Regions from separate parts of the Homo sapiens genome. Here regions 1 and 3 are each linked to region 2. The links are contacts of gene promoters, found by promoter capture Hi-C in blood cells and fetal thymus (Javierre and others, 2016). All regions are on one chromosome and are shown on one strand. The core of a region is centred on a gene start or on the middle of the fragment in contact, and the rest is flanking DNA. Distances in the headings are between cores, read along the strand shown. Region 1 has its middle 120 kb from the start of LINC02483. Region 2 holds the start of PARM1 (prostate androgen-regulated mucin-like protein 1). Region 3 has its middle 79 kb from the start of RCHY1.

The links. Contacts are between HindIII fragments. The CHiCAGO score rates a contact against its expected background, and 5 or more counts as called.
Region 1: a contact is called between a fragment that was not itself captured here and the fragment with the promoter of PARM1 in region 2, in 2 of 17 cell types (total B cells and naive B cells). The highest score is 5.5, in total B cells.
Region 3: a contact is called between a fragment that was not itself captured here and the fragment with the promoter of PARM1 in region 2, in 1 of 17 cell types (M0 macrophages). The highest score is 6.0, in M0 macrophages.

What each region holds. Positions count from the first base shown.
Region 1 is chr4:75,228,695-75,232,059 of GRCh38, forward strand. No RefSeq gene overlaps it. Among named protein-coding and RNA genes, the nearest start is that of LINC02483, 120 kb to the right of the region's middle. The HindIII fragment of the contact is 1,558 bases long and covers 751-2,308 here.
Region 2 is chr4:74,931,733-74,935,303 of GRCh38, forward strand. It overlaps PARM1 (prostate androgen-regulated mucin-like protein 1), which reads left to right and starts at 1,384. Exons shown (of 4, transcript NM_015393.4): 1 at 1,384-1,638. The coding sequence starts at 1,596. RefSeq lists silencers at 1,218-1,527, 2,108-2,157 and an enhancer at 2,268-2,317. The HindIII fragment of the contact is 7,366 bases long and covers 453-3,571 here.
Region 3 is chr4:75,433,685-75,437,050 of GRCh38, forward strand. No RefSeq gene overlaps it. Among named protein-coding and RNA genes, the nearest start is that of RCHY1, 79 kb to the right of the region's middle. The HindIII fragment of the contact is 959 bases long and covers 1,410-2,368 here.

The sequences.
Region 1 (3,365 bases), core at 280-2,779, 300 kb after region 2:
TTTATAATTTTAAAAAAAAGTTTTCTCTCGGGTGGCGTTTTAGATAATTTTTATCACTGTATCTTCAAGTTTACTTATCTTTTGTTCTCATGTATAATCTGCCACTACTACCATACTTTTTTATCTTAATTATTATAGTTTTCATCTCTGGAAGTTCAATATAGTTGCTTTTTAATATCTTGCATTTCTCCCCTTAACTCTTTAAACATATGGAATATAGTTATAATAATTGTCTAAATGTACTTGTCTTCTCATTCTAACAACTGTATCAGCTCCAGATTGGTTTTGATTATTTTCTGCATTATCGGTCATGTTTTTTTGTTTGTTTGTTTTCACAAGCCTGGTAATCTTTGTTTTAATGATAGACATTGTGATTTTACTTGCTAGATGCAAGTATTTTTATATTTCTATAAATATTCATGAGCTATGTTTTGGGATACAATGTAGTTACCTGGAAACAGTTTGATTAGGTCTTGCTTGTATGATTTGCTAGGCCGGCCTCAAATGGCACTCCCGTCTGGGCCAAATTATTCCTCACTACTGAAGAACAATCTTCTTGAGTATTCACCCCAATGCTTCATAAATTACGGATTTTTTAATTCTGGGTTTTGGGAATAAGCAATATTCTTGAACATGTGTGCATGCCAGGCAATATTTTCTAATCATTTTGGATTGTTATTTTCTTGCTCTTGAGTAGTTTCCTCACACACAAAAAACATTGATCAGTAATCTGCTGATTACTCAAAGAGAAGCTTTGCAAATCTCCAGGGTTCTACCTCTGTGCAGCCATCTTTTCTTTTTCACTTTGTCTTACAAATGCTAACCACCTTGGTCTCCCCAGACTCTCTGTTTCCTTGACTTAGGGAGTCTGCCAAACTCTGGCTAGGTTCCCCTCTGCTGCATTTCTAATATTTATCTTTACTAATTTTTTCTTAATCCACACTGAGGTTTTGGATCAGAGACAGACATCTTGTGACACTCACAGCATGATCAATACTCAGATTAACATTGCAGCATTGTTCCTCCATGTCTACATTGACACAATGAGAGCCAGATATGAAAAATTTTCTTGAATGAGTGACAGATCACCCCATAAGTGAGAGACACAAAAATAAATTTTCTTTGTTTTATTCAAGAAAAAGAAGCAGATGTCTCCTTTTCCACTTCTGAAAGTGTCCTTGGAAATATCTTACTCTAACCTTTTGGAATGTAAATAACTCTCCAGAGAAAAGATAATCCCAGTGTCTCCAGTTTTACAACTCAGAGACGTCTCCAAGTCCCAGGCTTCATCCTCTCTTGAAATGTACACACAAATCTTTGTGGTTAGTTAAATCTCTCTGGAGTTCTCACTATCTATACAGTTGTAAATTAACTTCTAAAACTTGCTCTCAGGTCAGATTCCAAGTGTCAGTAAAATTTGTTCAGAAAGCCCTAACTGTACTGAAACATAAAAATATTTTCTCCTCAATCTGACATCTTCCTAGTGTTACAACCTGGAAACATTCTCAAAGAGTGAACTGGAACTTAAGTTGTGACCTACACACAACTTCAAATCAAGTTATGAGTTATTCAAGATGTGACTCGCCTTGCTTTCTATCTCTCAGGCAGATAGAAAGACACCAAATCATTGATGGCATCACTGAGCAGCAGAAACTCTCAGTTCTCTGTTATGTGCAATACTAAAGTTTCTGGCTGGGCACAGTGGCTCACACCTGTAATAAAATAAATTAGCTGGGTGTGGTGGCATGCACCTGTAGTCCTAGCTACTCAGAAGTTGTGACCAGAGGATCGCTTGAGCCCAGGGGTTTGAGGTTACAGTGAGCTATGATCATGCCACTGCAAACTAGTGGCTGACAGAGTGAGATCCTGTCTCTAAAATAATAATAATAATAAAGTTTCTAATTGTTTAAGACAATCTGAGTTGGGGTTTTAGCCAAAGCATCCCAACTGATGTACTGCCTTTGCCCCAAGCTCCTATATCACTTGTACATGCTTCCTTTTCAGCTGTGGTTGGCTGCATAACTGTCTTCCCTCTAGACTCCAAACCTCTTGAGAGCCAAGAGGACATAAGTGCATCTTCTCTCTCTAAACTTAGGGCCTGATACAGAGTAGGCATGGCATGTGTGTTGAATGAGTGATTGTTCATCTCCTCAGAAGGTTGTGAAATATCTATTGTTACTATTAATAATAGCTTTTATCAAAAAAATCCATATGCCAACCACGTGCAGCATCTTATGTAATCTTCCCAATAATCCAATGAAATAGATACTACTCCAGTATTAAATTCATTTTTCAGTAGGAAAATTGAAGCTTTGGAAAGTTTAGTAACTTGCCCAACCTTACACAGCTAGGAAATGATAGAAATAGACTAGGACCCAAATATCTCAACCACCAGATTTTTTTTTTTTTTTTTGAGAAGATGACCTTATTTTACTATTTCATAGCTCCCCTACAAAAGTCTAGCACCAGATCTTGGTACATGTGTATAGTAAAGGTAAATTGAATTGAGTTGAATTGAATTGAATTATAGAGAACTGGAGAGAAGGGTAGCTGCTAACATTCAAATACTTGCCAAAAATCTTGCCACAGTTCAACTGTAATTTCTTCATAAAGAAATAAATTGATATTTCAGAAACATAACCCATTAGGGATTCTCAGTACCCTGCTAATGAGATCAGCTCACTAAATTCCAAAAATCTTCAAATAATTCATAGCATGCTCAAGCAGTACATTTATTCCCTTTTCTACCTTGTCACTGAACTCATAAGTATTTCATCAACTATCATAAAATTCCAGATTCATTTTCTATTTCAAAGCCAAGCAAGATGTCTGGGCACCCAATAAATATTAATTAGTGAAGATGATGAAGGTTAACTTGATCTGTTTCTTTCCCCTAATTGCTTTGGAAGACCCTTGGCATCATTTAGCATTGGATTGAAAGCTTTGAAAGATAACATTTCAAATCTATACATTGTTTAATTAACATTAATAGGTATTGCTTCTTTTTTGTTCAAAAGGTTTTGCAGTCATTAATTACATATGCAGAGTGATGGGAACAGATAAAATTTACTCTGAGAATCTTGATGCACTAAACTGTTTCTGTACTGCTGAAATCAGGAAATGCCATAAGAGCACTCTTTTTTGGGGTCATTCTCCTTTCCTCTCTGTTTTTCAATTTGGATAGTAAAGCAAGGTTGACAAATCAATTTGCAATGCCAAAGTTAGATATTCTTTTAAAGCTACAAAATAACAACAACAACAATATGAAACCCTACCCAGTAGTGTCTGGTTTCTCATTCTCCACACATTCACACACATACCTAAAGGAAAGAACCCTGGGAAAGTGTTAAATGAACTTATGTATA
Region 2 (3,571 bases), core at 134-2,633:
CATTCCAACAGAAATTACTAGATTTACCAAAACAAAGAGAAAAAAATATGATCCAAATTTAATCTGGTTGTGGAAGTGTGAGCAAAATCTACAAGTGGTAGTGTGATAGAGTCAGGCAGAGGAATTGACCATAGATAAGGTGCTCAGGACTCCTAGAGTCAGCTTCTGGTATGTGAGAAAGAAGTGAGAACAGAGCCCATGGCATATGAAGAAGATATTACAGAAAAAAGAAAGCTGCCTTCCACGCAAATCATTTCTTTACAAAGGCTTGTTAACTCCTGCAGTGCCCCAGCTCTAGTGACTAGGGGACCAATAGGTTCATTAATAACAGAATTGGGAGAGAACCTGGCATCTGCTTTGATCGAAGTGTGAGAATTAAGCAAGCCTAAAGTGTAGCAAGAGCAGGGAGGGAACTGAATGAAAGGTCAGTTCTAATCTGTAGGCTTTGGAGAAGCTTTGGGCTCTTGAGAGGGAGTAGAGTACAGAGGCTGAGCGGGGTGCCTGGGCAGGCATCTTATCATTACTTGCGAGTTGTGTGAACTCGGGCAAGTTAAACTTCTCTGTGCTTCTACTTTCTCCCCTGAAAACGAGGATATAATCTCCAAGGATTGTTGTGAGAACTAAATGACTTGGTTGATTCCTGAACAGCACGTTGTCCAGTGCCTAGCACATAGCAATCACTCAGGAAACGTCAGCCTTTATTATGGGCCTAGTGCACAAACTATTCTTACCAGTTATGCGACCTTGAGAACATTGTCTTCTCTGTGCCTTCATTTTCTCACCTGTAAAATGGAATAATAATAATTCTTAGAAGGATTCATGAAACAACGCCTAGTAGGGTGTCTGGCTTAGTTATCCCCCCGACAGTATTTTCTTCTAGTAAGAAGCTGAATGCAGCGGCAGACATCCTGGTTCGGGCCCCAGGAAGCTCAGCCGGGTTTAATGTGGATGAGGGTTTAATGATGTACACGCAGAAGTGTTTTGACAAATGAAGAAGGTCCTCATTCTTGGAACATGTGCCGGTTCTCCGAGGGAACTCCTAAAATGGCATAAGGTCACCTTTTTAAAGGCTGTAAGCTCATGTAGGAAAAGCTGAGCTAGATTCCTAAGGGCAGAGATGTGCTCACATTTCTTTGCATCCCTAGTTCCCAGCACAGTGCAAGGCGCTGCAAACATTTGCTGAACCCAGGGTCTCGTGTCTTGACTGTCCAGCAGAGGCCGCTCTGGGCCGGGGCTCTCGGGACCTGAGGGCTGAGAGAAGGAAGGCCAGGGGGTGGCCCAGTCATCGCCGCGGGGCCCGGGTGGGAGGGGTTTGGCAGCGGCAGGCGCGGCGGCGGCGGCGGAGGCGGAGGCGGCCCCGGGCTCGGGCGGCTGGGATGGAGCAGAAGAGCGCGGAGCACCGGAGGGCACGCAGCTGACGGAGCTGCGCTGCGTTCGCCTCGTTTGCCTCGCGCCCTCCACTGGAGCTGTTCGCGCCTCCCGGCTCCCACCGCAGCCCACCCGGCAGAGGAGTCGCTACCAGCGCCCAGTGCGCTCTGTCAGTCCGCAAACTCCTTGCCGCCCGCCCCGGGCTGGGCACCAAATACCAGGCTACCATGGTCTACAAGACTCTCTTCGCTCTTTGCATCTTAACTGCAGGTAATTGGCGCCATCCTCCCGGAAGGGCAGGTCGCGGGGTGGGCCCCAGTAGCTAGCGCGTGGTCGGGGCTGAAGCTAGGAGATCCGGCAGTGAGTCGCCGCGCGCCTCCGGGTGAGTGCGCAGGTGTGTGCGCACTTAGATTTGGGGTGACGTGCACCTTTGGCGGTCCCGAACCGTACTGAGGGAGGGGACGATGGGGTCCTTCCTGCCGCAGCCCGCGCCCGCACAAACTCCAGCTTTGTAGAACAGGTGGCTGTCTTAGCTGCGTGTTCGAACCCAGAGTGGGCAACACGGACTGCGCCTCAAGGCTTCTCTTTCTTCACCAGGGTTTCGGAGCGCACTCTGCCAAAGTACGGGACCAGACTTCTTGTTGCCGTTGGGCCCTGGAAGGGATGAAAAAGCCGGGGAAGTGGGGGTGGGAGGTTCGCATCTGGGAAGGCTTCAGCAGCGGCTGCGCGCCTGGCGGGGCTGGTTTGCTTTCTCGAGTCTTGGCGGTCTCTGATCTCCGGCGTCCCTTCCTAGTTATGCTTAGGATGATGTGGCACTAACAGCAGCGGCCCGGCCTTGGTCAGGCTCGCAATCGTCACTGGGGGTAGCAAGGCTACCTTCTGCCCCAGAACTCCCCAAAAACGTATCCCATAGAAGAAACTATTAACTTGGCTAAACTAGCATCCTCTCCCCTCCCCCTGCACCACCTCTGAAAGGCTTCGTAGGAGCCACTCTCGGGTTTCGGGACCACAGACGGCGACGACCTCTGGCAGCGGGGATGGGGAAGAGGGGAGCCAGATGACTGAGCTCGGCTTGGCGGGGACCGGGGAGAGATTCAGAAAGACGCTTTGAATCTAGAGTTCAGGTACCTATTTTTTCCAGAAAACGTCTCCCGAAAAGGGACAACTGGCTGTGGATATGGTGCTGCTGGGAAAAGTAGCCCGACTGCGCGGCCACTGGCATTTTCAGTTTAAATGTGACCCAAAGTCACATAGCGCAAACCGATTCTACTCGTGCTTTAGTCTGTATATCCTCCCTCTGAGTTCGTCGGGTTCCTACAGTTGTGGACACGAGTCGTCGCAATCCCTTGAAAAGAAGCTAGCGGTTTTCAGGCAGCTCACAGTGGGTAATGCAGTTATAAGGAAAAGTTTCCCAACTTGAAACTATAGCGTATTTTCTCTACTTAGTGAACGTCCGTCTGAGAAAACCTCTTTCTCGCTGGTATCTCGGCACGGTTTGGAGACGCGTCCGCGGACAGTTCCCGAATACTCGCAGGCGGCTTTGGCTGCCCAGCCTCGGGCTGAGATGAGAGAGCCTAGGTCCGGCAGGTGCAATAGGCAGCGGAGCTCCCGGCTGGCTGCGGGTGGTAATTCCTGTAATCCTCAAAGCAGGAGATGCTTACGTAATGACACGGAAGGTACCTTTACTTCTCCTCACTCAAAAATCTTTTCTTGAGGTTCAGAAACCCTTGAGTGAGTCAGTAGAGAGGTTCGTTTGCAAATTTGATTTAGTGGCTTGTCTTGTTTATTTAATCATTTCCTTTTTTAAACAGCTCTGGCAGTTGTCAAAACCGGGATTAACCCTAACAAACAGTGTATTGTAGCTTCCCCACCCCCACCCCAAGAAGCTCTTTTTTCTTTTTTTTTTTTTTCTTTTTTCTTTTATTCAGCGTTACAGTTTAGCTCCGCTATTCCGGGAGGAATATCACCCTTGACCCACCGCTAGAGCGAGGAGACTGGTGGGCCAGGGACCGGCTGAGCACCACTCCTACCCCCACGCACTAATTAGGATCAGAGCCCAGATGGTCACAGCCTTCCAGCTGTGAGGCTCGAGACTCAGGAAGACATACTGCCTCATTTCCCTAGTTATGCTTCGATATGCATATCCCAAGCTGAAAATGATGAAGCTAATGGACACTGCATTCCCCCTGAAGTTTGTGCCTTT
Region 3 (3,366 bases), core at 639-3,138, 500 kb after region 2:
GCCCTTAACCATGAGATTGTATCTACCACATTATAGTACTATTGAGAAACTCTGTGATCCATTGGGGAGCTAGCCTTGGGCCACGTCAATACCTGGGCTCAGACTCCAGCGTCAGTGCCACTACTGTGGAGGGATGCCACAGCCCACGTATACCCTATTGAAAATCTTGCTTCCTTGACCACAGAAGACATTAGTCGTGAGGTAATATGATCATTCCCATTTCTGGGAACAGAGAGGCTGGTGTTGAAAGAATCTATGTGCTGAAAATAAGGCTGAAAGGTTGATTCTAAGGTGGATCAACTTAGAGTGAAATGAACACCCATTAAGTGTAAATTCCCAGCAGTCATTTTGAAAAACGACACAGCACAGGAAGATTTTGTTTCCATCCAATTTAGCAAAGTTTACCTTAAAATAGCCAAAGATTCCCACTTACCCAGGAAAAAGTCCAGGGGTAGATCCCTTCTCTAGAGATCTGGATGAGCAGAGATGCAACTCCTATCTCACTAGGCTCTTCTGCTAATGAGATACAACGCAGATGGATACAGCAGCTGGGACTAGAACAGAGTGTTCTTTGAGGATTTGGGCTTTGTGTTTCCACAGCAACATCATACCTGGAGAAAAACAGCCTTGTGATGAAGCCCAGCATGTCTGTCTCCATAACGACAAGATCATGGCAACTTGGCTGTGAATCCTCCCTCTACCTCCTCATCAGTGACCACAGTAACAATGCCAAACACCTTTACTCCAGGCCCAGATGGTTTCACTGGAGAATTTTAACAAATGTTTAAAGCAAAATTAACACCAATGGTACACAATCTCTTGCAGTATATAGAAGAGGATTATAACTTCTCAATTCATTTTAGGAAGCATATACTACCCTGATACCAAAACCAGACAAAGACAGCACAAAGAAAACCTAGACATCAATATTCCTCATGAATACAAACACAATAATAACAAAATATTAGCAAATTGAATTCAGCACACATAAAAATAACCAAAGCTATGCTAAGTGGATTTTCTTTTAGATATACAAGACTGATCCAATATTTAAAACTCAAGTGATGTAATCCAATATATTAATAAGCTAAAGAAGAAAAATCACATCATTATATCAATTCATGCATAAAAATTTGATGAAATTAAACAACTATTCATGATTTTTTAAAACTCCCCAAAAAATAGAGGGGAAATTCCCCTTAACTTGATAAAGAGCATCTACCTGCAAAGGACCCTACACGAACCTTATACTTAAAAGTTGACAGACTAAATGCTTTCACTGAAGATCTCAGGAGCGAGTCAAGAATGCCACTCATGGAGAAAATTAGAAAAATGGCAGATAGGAGCCAGTACTAACTTGCAGCTCTCACTTGAATGGACAGAGCAGTATGTGGACACTCACATCATGAAGCTTTGCTCCAAGAACTACTGCAGAAACACATTAGGCAAGCCAAGCGAATCCACAGACCCTTCGAAGGAAGCAGCTTGCTGCTGCAGGCTCTGAGACAGCTGAAAAACTGTGAGTTCCCAAAGTATGAAAAGAGGAAAAATCCACCCTCGAAGACACATCTTTACTGGGGACCCTGAAGGTTCAGATCATGGATGAAGGATTTGACCTTACCTGGAACTGAAATGAATTTAGAGAGTCAAACAAAATATGGGGATACAGGAAGCAGCGGAAAGAGCCCTCTTGGTCCCCAGAGAAGACATTTCTGATTTCATCTCGCAGAGGGGTTTGGGGAGGGCTCCCAATGGAATTGAGGAAAGATCACAGGAAGAAGGAAACTTCCAGCTTAATTTTGTAACAATTTCAACTGAAAGTGAGGTTTCCTGGACAGAACTTGGGGAAAGGGTCAAACAGGGAGCACAGATAGAAGCACAGAAGCTGCAGCAGGCAGGGAGGCATGAAACCTGAAAGCCCTGCTTGCTTTCCCAGCAGGGAGGCTTGTAGCCTGGGGCAGGTTCTCAGCCTTGCTCCCCAGCTGCCTCAAAATAAGCTCGGTGCTGTTGGGGGTGCATGGTGGGAGTAAGACTTGCCTTTCGGGTGGCAAGAAAGCTGGGTGAGGCCTGTAACTGCTGGCTTTCCCCCACTTCCCTGATGACCCATATGACACAGCAGAGGCACCCATAATCCCCCTAGGAACGTAACTGCATTGGCCTGTGAACCACACCCCGATCCCCACCAGCAGCCACAGCAAGCCCTACCCAAAGAGAGTCTGAACTCAGACACACCTAAACTTGCCCCCATCTGATGGTCTTTCTCTACCCACACTGGTAGCAAAAGGCAAAGGACATAAGCTCTTGGGAGCTCTAGGGCCCCACCCACCATCTGAGAAACCCGAATACTTATCTAGGTGACCCTAGGGTAAGCTTGTATCCTCTCTATACTACTGCAACTGATGCTGTCTTGAAAGCACCACCTCCTGGCTGGAGGCCAACCAGAACAAGACCAGTACACTAACAAAAACTACAACCAAGGACCCTCACAGAGTCCACTTCACTCCCCTGGTACCTCCACCAGAATAGGTGCTGGTATCCATGGCTGAGAGACCTACAAATGGGTCACATCACACGACTCTGTGCAGACACTTCCCAATACCAGCCTGGAGCCCAGTAGCTCAACTGGGTGGATAAACCCAGAAGAGAAATAAAAATCTCTGCAGTTCAGGTCTCAGGAAGCCTCATCCCCAGATGGAAGGGAGAGCACCACATAAAGGGAGCACCCCATGGGACCAAAAAATATGAACAGCAGCCAAATCCCAGGTCTTCCCTCTGACGTCCACCCAAATGAGAAAGAACCAGAAAAACAATTCTGGTAATATGACAAAACGAGGTTTTTTTAACACTTCCAAAAGATCACACTAGCTCACCAGCATTGGATCCAAACCAAGATGAAATATCTGGATTGCCAGAAAAAAGAATTCAGAAGGTCAATTATTAAGCTAATCAAGGAGGCACCAGAGAAAGATGAAGTCCAACTTAATGAAATCAAAAAAACAATAAAGGATATGAATGGAAAAATCTCCAGTGAAATAGACAGCCTAAATAAAACACAATCACAACTTCTGGAAATGAAGGACACACTTAGAGAATTGCAAAATGCACTGGAAAGTCTCAGCAATAGAACCAAACAAGTAAAAGCAAGAACTTCAGATCTCAAAGACAGGGCTTTAGAATTAACCCAATCTGACAAAGACACAGAAAAAAAGAATTTTAAAAATGAACAATGACTCCAGGAAGTTTGGGATTATATTAAATGAATAAACCTAAGAATAATTAGTGTTCCTGAGGAAGAAGAGAAATCTAAAAGTTTGGAGAACATATTTGAGGGAACAATCAAGGAAAACTCCCCTGGCCTTGCTAGAG